Linked DNA regions of Homo sapiens: region 2 is linked to region 1. The links are contacts of gene promoters, found by promoter capture Hi-C in human tissues and cell types (Jung and others, 2019). All regions are on one chromosome and are shown on one strand. Each heading gives the region's core, a stretch centred on a gene start or on the middle of the fragment in contact. The rest is flanking DNA. Distances are from core to core; before and after follow the strand shown.

Region 1 (4,766 bases), core at 156-2,655:
ACCTACACTGAATGACTTTTATGTACTATCAAAGGAAAAATATGAGTATAGAGATATGGAGACACAATTAGGATACCTCAGTGGTAGACAAAAATTATGTTTTTTTATGTCTTAAGGAAAGCTGCTTACAGAGTTACAAAGTTCTTATTTGTAGTGAGCAATAGAATTAACATTTGTCATAGGAATTGAGAATTTTAGAGATAAATTTTATTTTAACATATATATGAAATATGAAAATCAAAATAAATAAAATATATGTAATTTTCTGTATGCCCTGACAGAGATCTAAGAATGAGGAAACGTTTCATTTACTAAATTGAGGATTGTAACATAAAGAATAGGGTAGAATTCAAACAGAAGTCATAAAATTGATTGTGGCATCTCCATTCCTGGCATTTATTTTATTTTTTCCTTTCTTTCTAAATCCGAGAGAGGAAATGGAGTACCACTGGAGGATAATAACTTGACAAAACTATAGGCATTAATAGGCAGAAATCCATTTAATCAAATTTGTGTGAAAATAAGATAGTTAAGAATATTCGTGTGTCAAAATAACTTTTTAAAGTATCAAATTATTCTCTAACGTCAGATTTTTTGTGTTTGTGAACATTGTTTTAAAATTTCTAAACTTCTTTATGATACAATATTGAATTTAATATCAGTAACTCAATTTATTAATAGCATGGAATTTTTTTAGAAATGTTTGTTAAAAGTTGACTGGACTTTAGAGGGGAAACATCCTCAAGGGCACTTTAAAAGTAGCTTGTATTATATATTCTGAAACTCCATTTCATTATTCACTGTATGAAATTATGATAATATTGGAATAGGCATGCTGATAATGTGCATGTTGTAGTCAAATGACTATTCATATTAGTTCAGATGTAAATAGCTCAGTTCTGCACTGTTTCTCAGCAGAGCAATAAATAACAAAATTAAGTCATTGTTTTTGCATGGAGAAATTAACCACTACTACCAAATATGGTAACATAATTGGAAGATTTTTTAATTGGCAGAAATTCACATTTGAAAAGCAAAATAAAAGTGAAAGATAAATTTAAATGACAAACCAGTAACCAGGATCAAAGATGAATATGACCTTTTTCATTTCAAAGTTGTCTCATTTTTCCTGTCACTAAATGGATAAGCATTTATAAATTTAAGCACTTTGTCATGTCATTTTATTGCCTAAGATTGAACTGATATTCATAAAATTAACTCATTTTAAAAGTTCAGATTATAGAAATTATAGGAATTAAGAATTATAGAAAGTAAGAATTACCAAAGTCAGCGAAATCTGTTTCTTACCTTGGCAGCTGTGATCATCACAGTATAGAGTATTGTGTTGTATGAAGTCTTACGGGTGTTTAGCTGGGGAGTTTTCTGACTCTGTCACCCAGTTTATGGGAACAGTTGCAGTAGGTGGAGGAGAAAAAGTGTTCTAGGGAGGTCTTATGATGTCACATAGGAATTCTGAAGTTTCGATTGGTTAGCCACAGTCTCAGTCTTATCACAACCAAACTTTAGAACTTCTTACTTTAGGTATGGAAAAGTCATTAACACTTTGTGCTTCATCTTTTGTTTTTAATTTAAAACAGTATATGGTAGATAAATGAAAAAAATAAGTAAACTTGAGGTGGTGGAAAGCTTTTGTTAAAGATTCATGCATCTTCAGGCTTAGAGATAATTGAATATTAATGGTGAAGATGTTGAAGAGCTAAAATAGTTACTGCAGGAATTTTAATTATGAGAAAAATAAACACAGGTATAAGCAAAACAACTTTCATTGAATTCTTGCTGCTGTTGCTTTAATACGTGTCTTCATAATGTTAGCTTTTAGTGAAAGTGAAATATTTTTACACAATAAAATTTTATACCTGTTTTCTTATTTTGTTCTTGTTCTTGTGTGTATGGGAGAAGGAGTATGAGAAAATCAGGCTAATTGCTTTTTGTTTTAAAAAATTATTTTTATCTTACAGTTAAAGAACTAATAAATGTATTTAATTCATTTGTGTTTTCTTCAATTAGCAGTTTAACAATATATTTGTGAATAGTAATACTTATATTTAAACTGATACATACAACACCCCCAAAATAGCAATATGCTACTTTAAGTATTTAAGATTTTTTAAAAACAATTGCATTAAATTATTACACAATCTTACCAAATTTTTAATAAACTGATGCAGTATTAAGGGCAACTTTATGGCAAAAAAGAAATAATTACAGATTCCAAATCAGTTACATCTCAGTTAATGAGGCTTTATAGGTTTGATGTGTTGAAATTTAAGTTTTGTAATGTTTTTGAAAGGATGTGCCTCATTTAATCTAGCAGTTGCTTTCCTGAAAATTACTATAAAAATGAGATGCTAGTAAGTGAGATGATATTTTGAACTTCCTAGAACAGTTTATCTTACAGTAGAACTGGGGAAATAATTTTTTTGTAAAGCCGGGCATCATTCTCCTCTTCTCTGTTTATCTAATTTGTTGTCTTAGATGTTAGATTTACTTAAGTCACCACACTCGAAAATATTAATTCTTAAATCTCTTCTTTAATTTTAGAGGAGGTACTTGTAATTTTTAATTTTTTAAATGCTTATGACAGAGTGAACTTAGCCCACTTCACTTTCTTATGGGTAACTAAAATGTGTAGCAGCAGCTGCTTACATGCCCTTAAATGGAAATGATCTTGGCTTCTTCCAAAGAAAGAAAATCCATCTCTAGAGCAAATCATTTGATATTTAAAGAGTCAGCTTAAAACTAACTGAAAAATAATATTTTAGCAAAGATATCCTGTGAACATTGCCAAGGGAAAATTTACAACTTAAAAGTAAAACCCAAGTTAAGGAAATTGCAGAATAATGTTTGATACTTTTCTCAGTGCTACAACCATTTTTCTTTCAATCCTTACATAATGAGGATCTCTCAGTACTATCAGTTACCAATGATGATTGATAATACAAAACCGAGAAGCCTAACGAGGTTTACAGTAATTTGTCAGAGATAACCAGCTGCTAAAGAATAGACAGGATTCAAATCCAGATCTGTCTGTTTATAATTCCTAATCTGTTGGCATGCTGTGGGAAAAAATTATAATTTGAATATAGCTTTCATTAGAGTAGCATATAGTAACTGAGAAATTTTTAAGATGTAAATAGATGCATTCTTGAGCACTGTTAATAGTTTTAGAAAGTCTGCTTTAAGTTTGTCTACCAGTTACACATTCATTTGAAATTTAGGTGATAGATCATTGTTCTGAGAACTTCTCATTCTAAGAAAATAGAATTAGTAATACTTAGTTGGATAAACCAAGAAGCTGCCGTAGACAGAATAAAATATGCCCTAGTTACCACATGTTTATAAGTTTACTTAAAAAGTATACATAGGCATATACACACCTTAGAAGGATACTAACAACTGTGTGTGACACAGTTGGAAAATGGATTCAAAAATTTACTTTTTAGATTGGTACAAGAGTGGGGAGTTTTTGTGTTTACCTTGTTCCTTTGGGTTAGCTAGTGAAGATGACGATGATGGTGATGATCTCATGTGGAACTCTAGGAAGTATTAGATTTTAGTTTTAACTGAACATTGTTTTTAATTGCCCAAACAGAAAGTTGTTTAATAGGAGTATTAATGAGTTATAGTGTTATCAGTAGAGTGTTCCTCAATGATTCCTCAGCTAGAGGCTAGAAAATTTTTTTGAGGTGCTTTGTCACAGTCTTCATTTGGAGTTACACTATAGTTTGAATGTATTTTTGGTCACATGGCTTTATACAAATAACTTTCCTAAGCAGCCTAATCTGTGGAATAGTATTTGTGATGGTTTAATGACATGAAGTGTACATAGTGATTATCAGAGATCCTGCAACAGTGTTCATTTAGTGTTAGCACTTATTTTCTTTTTTCCTTTAGAAGGTGGATTCTTAAGGGTAAAGTGTCTTTGAACTTGGATGGGAAAATAATTACAAATTTATTTTTACTAAGCTCTAAATGAAATTTAGTATTCAGTTTCAACTGAATCATGAGTTCATGTCTTTACTTTTGTTTTTATATAGTTTTGTAGCATTTTAAATGTGTTCCTCAAAAGTATTACTAATTTTTTTTGGAAGGGGGTGCGGAGTCTCACTCTGTTACTCAGCCCCGAGTGAATGGTGCGATCTCAGCTCACTGCAACCTCTCCCTCTCGGGTTCAAGCGATTCTCCTGCCTCAGCCTCCCAAGTAGCTGAGACTACAGGCGTGTGCCACCACGCCCAGCTAACTTTTGTATTTTTAGTAGAGATGGGGTTTCACCATATTGCCCAGGCTGGTCTCAAACTCCTGACCTCGTGATCTGCCCACCTCGGCCTCCCAAAGTGCTGGGATTACAGGCGTGAGCCACCGCGCCCAGCTATATTACTAACGTTTTGTGAAGGGCACTGTGATGTATGTAGTAATCTTTTACATTGAGCATTTAAACTCCAGTCTGTAGTGGTGTATCCGGAGGGCGAAGAAGCTTCAAAATAGAATCGGTTTTTGGAAATTTTTGACCAGAAGTTAATATAAGTGATGACTAAATTAAAGCATTTTAATATTTAGACAGAGATACAGTAAAATGCAAGCTTTGAATCAATTTTTGTAATGTTCACAATACATCAAAGATAAGGAGCTTTTTTTAGATTAGATCTCCTAGACACCCAGGAAGAAGATTTTACCTATCTCTTGAGGGTACTTGAGGGTTTGATAATTACTGCCTTAAATTTTAAAGCTACGTAGGGAAGGACTG
Region 2 (4,943 bases), core at 1,485-3,984, 190 kb after region 1:
GGATCTCTCAATTACTGATAAAGGGGTGTTCAAGTCTTCAGCTATAATAGTTTTAGTTTGCAGTTTTATTGATTTTTGCCTCATGTATTTTGACATTCTGTTTTAGGTATGTACATATTAAGGATTGTTATGGCTTTTTTTGGGCGGGGGAGGTTGTTATGTTTTCTTGGAGAATTGACCCCCTTTGTTGTTATATAAAGTGTTCTTTCTCTATACCTGATAATTTTTATTTACTCTGAAGTCTGCTCTATTTGAATCTATATAGTTATTTCTATTTTCTTTTGATTAGTGTCAGCATAGTATATCTTCATTATTTTACTGTTAATCTATTTATGTCTTCATATATATGAAGTGGATTTATTTTAGACAAAATATAGTTGGGTCTTTTTTTTTTTTTTTTGGTTTGTTTGTTCATTTTATCCACTCCAATAGCCTCTGTGTTTTAATGGGTGTATTTAGACCATTCACATATAAAGTGATTATTGATATAGTTGGATCAATATCAACCATATTTGTATCTGTTTTCTATTTGTTGCCATGGTTTTCTTTTTTGTCTTTCATACTTTTCCTGCCTTCACTGATTTTAATTGGGCATTTTATATGATTCTCTTTCTTCTCCTTTTCTATCATATATATTATCCTTCTTAAAAAAAAAACAACTTTTTTAGTGGTTCCCCTAGAGTTTGCAATATGCATTTACAACTAATCCAAGTCCAATTTCAAATAATACTATACTGTTTCATGACTAGTGCAAGCCCTTGTAACAGAATATTCCTAAGTCCCTCCCTCTCTACCTTATTGTATTGCATTTCACTTCTCTATAAATTATAATCACTCAATGATTGTTTCTATTATTATTTTGAATAAACTCTTGTTTGTTAAATCAATTGAGAACAAGAAAAATAAAAGACTTTATTTCACCTTCATTTATTCCTTCACCAGCTCCCTTTCTTTACGTAGGTCTGAGTTTCCAACCTATATCATTTTCCTTCTCTCTGAAGAACTTCTTTTAATATTTCTTGTAAAGCAGTTATACTGTCAACAAATTATCTCAATTTTTGTGTGCCTGAGAAAATCTTTATTTCTTCTTCACTTTAGAAGGATAATTTCAGTAGAAACAGAATTCTCACTTAGTGGGTTTTTTTCTTTCAACATTTAAAATATTTCCCTCCACATTATTCTTGCTGCCATGATTTCTGAAGATAAGTCTGATGTAATTGTTATTCTTGTTTCTCTATAAGTATTTTTATTCTATGGCTTTTTTCAACATTTTCTCTTTGTATTTTTTTTGCAGTTTTAATATGATATTCCTAGGTATAGATATTTTGGTGTTTATCCTGGTTGTTGCTCTCTGAGCTACCTGAATCCATGTTTTGGTGTCTGACATTAATTTTGGAAAATCCTTAGCCATTATTACTTAAAATATTTCTTCTGTTTCTTTCTCTTCTTTTTTCTCTTTCTGGCATTCTCATTACACATATATTGCATCATTGTCCTACAGTTTTATAATTGTCCCATAGTTCTTGGATATTCTATTCCTTTTTATTTCATTCTTTTTTCTCTTTACTCTTCATTTTGGAATTTTCTGTTGACATATCTTCAAGCTCACAGCTTCTTTTCTAACCTGTGCTCAGTCTACTGATGATCTACTGAAAGCAGGCTTCATTTCTGTTATAGTGGGTTTATTTTCTATTTTATGGCAAAACATACACAATATAAAATGTATAATGTTAACCATTTTTAAGGGTACATTGCAGTGGCAATAAGTACTTCACAATGTGTGGAATCATCACCACTGTCCATCTCCAGATCTTTTTCATCATCCCAATGGAAACTCTGTTTATTAAAGAGTTCCAGAGTCTCAGTCTCCCTTTTTCCAGCCCCTGGTAACTTCTATGTTCTGTCCTTATGAGTTTGCCTATTCTACATACCTTACATAAGTAGAATAACACAATATTTGTCTTTTTGTATCTAATTTTGATTTCTATCTTGGACATTGTGAATGTTGTGTTATGGAGACTGGATTCAATTATAATCCTCTTAAGAATGTTGGCAATTTTATTTTGGTTGCCAGTGAAGTTTGTTAGACTTAAACTTGCAAACTATGCCTCTTGGCAGTTACTCAAATCTCCATTCAGTTGTTTTATCCTTAGGTGGTTTGCTTGCAGACTACCCACCCATGCACAGTTCAGGGCTTAGCTAGAGATTCAGGCAAAAGTTTGCACACAGATTTTGGGCTCTTTCCCTCTGGGTCGCTACTTTTTAGCCTTCCTCCTATATAATCAAGTGACCATGGTTACCCTGAAGTCTGTTCTCCTAGACTTCTGTTTTTTCATTAGAGTTTTAGCTTCTCTTTACCGACAGACTTCAGCATGACTGATTTGGGACTAAATGCCATAAAAAGGGAAAAGCAACCCCTTACCAGTTTCTTTTCTCAAGTGTCAGCTTCCTTTCAGAATCTACTTGCTTTTGTTATTCTCCAGAATCTTCAGGTAGTTTTTCATTCTATTTTGTCCAGAGTTTTATTTATATATAGGGGGGAGGGGGGTTAATTGCTAATCTAATTAGCAATTTCCTTTTATTACTTTTGAAAACAGACACAATAAGTAATAGTATCTGAGTAACTCTTCAGCTTACCAAACCTCCCTGAAGTTAATAATCAGCTGGGATGCATATTATATATGCAGATTACCATTCTCCTCCTATGGAAATTCTGATTAAGTAATTCTGAATTGGGAACCAGTAATTTGTTCTTTTAGTTAGAGGTTGCAAGTGACTCTTATTTTTAGGGATGTTCGGGCAAACATTATGTTAGACCCTTGCTACCCAAAATGTGGGAGTTTGTTAGAAGTGTAAAATCTCGGCCTTCTCCCAAATCATACAGAATGTGAATTCATATTTTGACAAGACGCTAGATGATTTATAGGAACATTGAACTTGCAGAAGTGGTAGTTTGGGCTACTATGACTTTTTAATGTCGAATATGAAATGCTCAGTGATTTTTTTCCATTATGTATTCACTCATCAAATACTTTTGGTGATAAATAAAATAAACATAAATCCTGCCTTTATGGTCAACAGCCAATAAATTTAAAAAAAGCACATTAATCACTATTATAGCCTGCAAAGTGCTATAAAGGAAACAAATATGGTGAAAAGATATAGGCCAGTGATTCTAAAATTTCATGCAATTTAGAATCACCTGGGGGTATTTTAAAAATTAAATGCCAAGACTTTACCCCAGACAAATTAAATCAGAATTTTTGGGGAGGAGATGCAGGCATCAATGTTTTTAAAAAACCTCAGATGATTCCAATGTACAGCCAAGTTTGAGAACCAATTATACAGGGCTAGTTGAGAATCACTAGAAAGGTCAAGAAACGTCTCATTTGTTCTGAGACTTGAAGGGTAAGTAGGTATGTAAAGACTCAAGGGAACGGCATTCCTGGAGGTGGGATCAGCAGGTACATAAATCTCAAGAAAGAAATAAGCTTGATGTATTTGAGGAACTGAAAGTGACAATGTGGTTTGAGGTATAATGAGTAAAATAGAGAAAGGCATAAAGTTGAACAAAGCCAACAATGTCTGTTTGCATCCATAGGCCATATAAAGGGTGTTTGGCACACATGGAACTATCAATTTTAGATATGTTAAAAATTTGTCACAAGTGTTAGGGGAATTTTGAATTAATAATAGCTGCAATGGATGGCATAGTGTGTTGATTTTTATCCAGGCTCCCTCTATCTGGCTCAGTGAGAGATTGTCTAAGCTTGGGGTTTTTACATGCGGCTAGTTTCTTATACTCTATTTTTTTACTGAATTAGAAAATCCCAACTTGTCATCAAGAATGGCAGCAAGGGATTGATGGTTCAGGTAGATGATTTTGGATGTTCTAATGGAACATGGACAGAGAAATTATAGCATAGTTGCTTGATAAAGATTACATTAAAGTTGCATTAGACTCTAAGTCAGCAAGCCTTCCATTGCTTTTTCTGAGACCTCATCTAGTTAGTTGTCCATATCCTATGTTGGTCTGGCAACTGGGCTTCATTTCTTGTAGTAGGTAATTTATAGTTTGTTAATAAGCAACAATTCAAGGTTTAGTTTTTGTTACATCTACTGTTCAAATTTACATGGATCGGTACCAGGCTGAAATGTTCACAGACTTTCCCTTTGTAAACTGCCTGCTATGCTCATAGAGACCTGGAGTGGGACTATCAGGAGACAGTGGCTGTGAATCCCTCATCATCAGTTCCCTGGACACTGGTGGGTGTCACTAGCCATACCTGGGCCATCAGCAGTGATGGCCACATCACAGCACCCTTTCCATCAACAATTCCTGATAGATAGGCCATGAATTCCACAGGAACTGGCTCATTTTTGCTCTCACAAGGAACTCTGCTGGCTACCTCATGTTGTCTTCCATTTTTGTTCTCTTCTGCTATAGTCTAGCTTATTGTTGTTGAGTCTATTGTTTAAAAATTATTTCCTGAGTAAATAGTATTAGTATTAAAGTGACTTGATGTAAGGAAAATGAATGTGCTGCAGTCAAGGGTAGGCCAAGGTGGCCTTCCAATGTAGCATGACTCAATGGGTTTGGAGTGCAGGTGCACAACTCTGCACATTATGAAACCACACCATGTGAGGCACATTAGGTGATCACCCATGTGAGCTTGTGCTTGGCTCGGAGCCACTGTTGTCTGTAAATGGTATAATTACCCTGCTAACGCTGTACATATGGGTTATGCCCAGGCTCACTCCCAGAGAGAGAATGTACTTATGGCTTGCACCCAGGTTGGCTTGAGGCCAGGCTCATGGCCAGGCTCGTGCCCAGGTTTATGCCCACAGCTTGCACCTGGGCTTGCTCACACCCAGAGAGAGTAAAAGCCATGTTGAAACTGTTTATGATTCCTTGAGTATTCTTCCAGCTACCTGCCACTGGT

What was found. Contacts are between HindIII fragments. The study calls those that stand out against the background at their distance.
Region 2: a fragment that was not itself captured here is called in contact with the fragment with the promoter of PLN in region 1 in 1 of the 25 tissues and cell types used here (adrenal gland).

Annotation. Positions count from the first base shown.
Region 1 is chr6:118,544,935-118,549,700 of GRCh38, reverse strand. It overlaps PLN (phospholamban), which reads right to left and starts at 1,405. Exons shown (of 2, transcript NM_002667.5): 1 at 1,309-1,405. The region is part of intron 3 of CEP85L (centrosomal protein 85L); the gene reads left to right. The HindIII fragment of the contact is 9,299 bases long and covers 1-3,072 here.
Region 2 is chr6:118,353,431-118,358,373 of GRCh38, reverse strand. No RefSeq gene overlaps it. Among named protein-coding and RNA genes, the nearest start is that of PLN, 190 kb to the left of the region's middle. The HindIII fragment of the contact is 7,661 bases long and covers 1-4,943 here.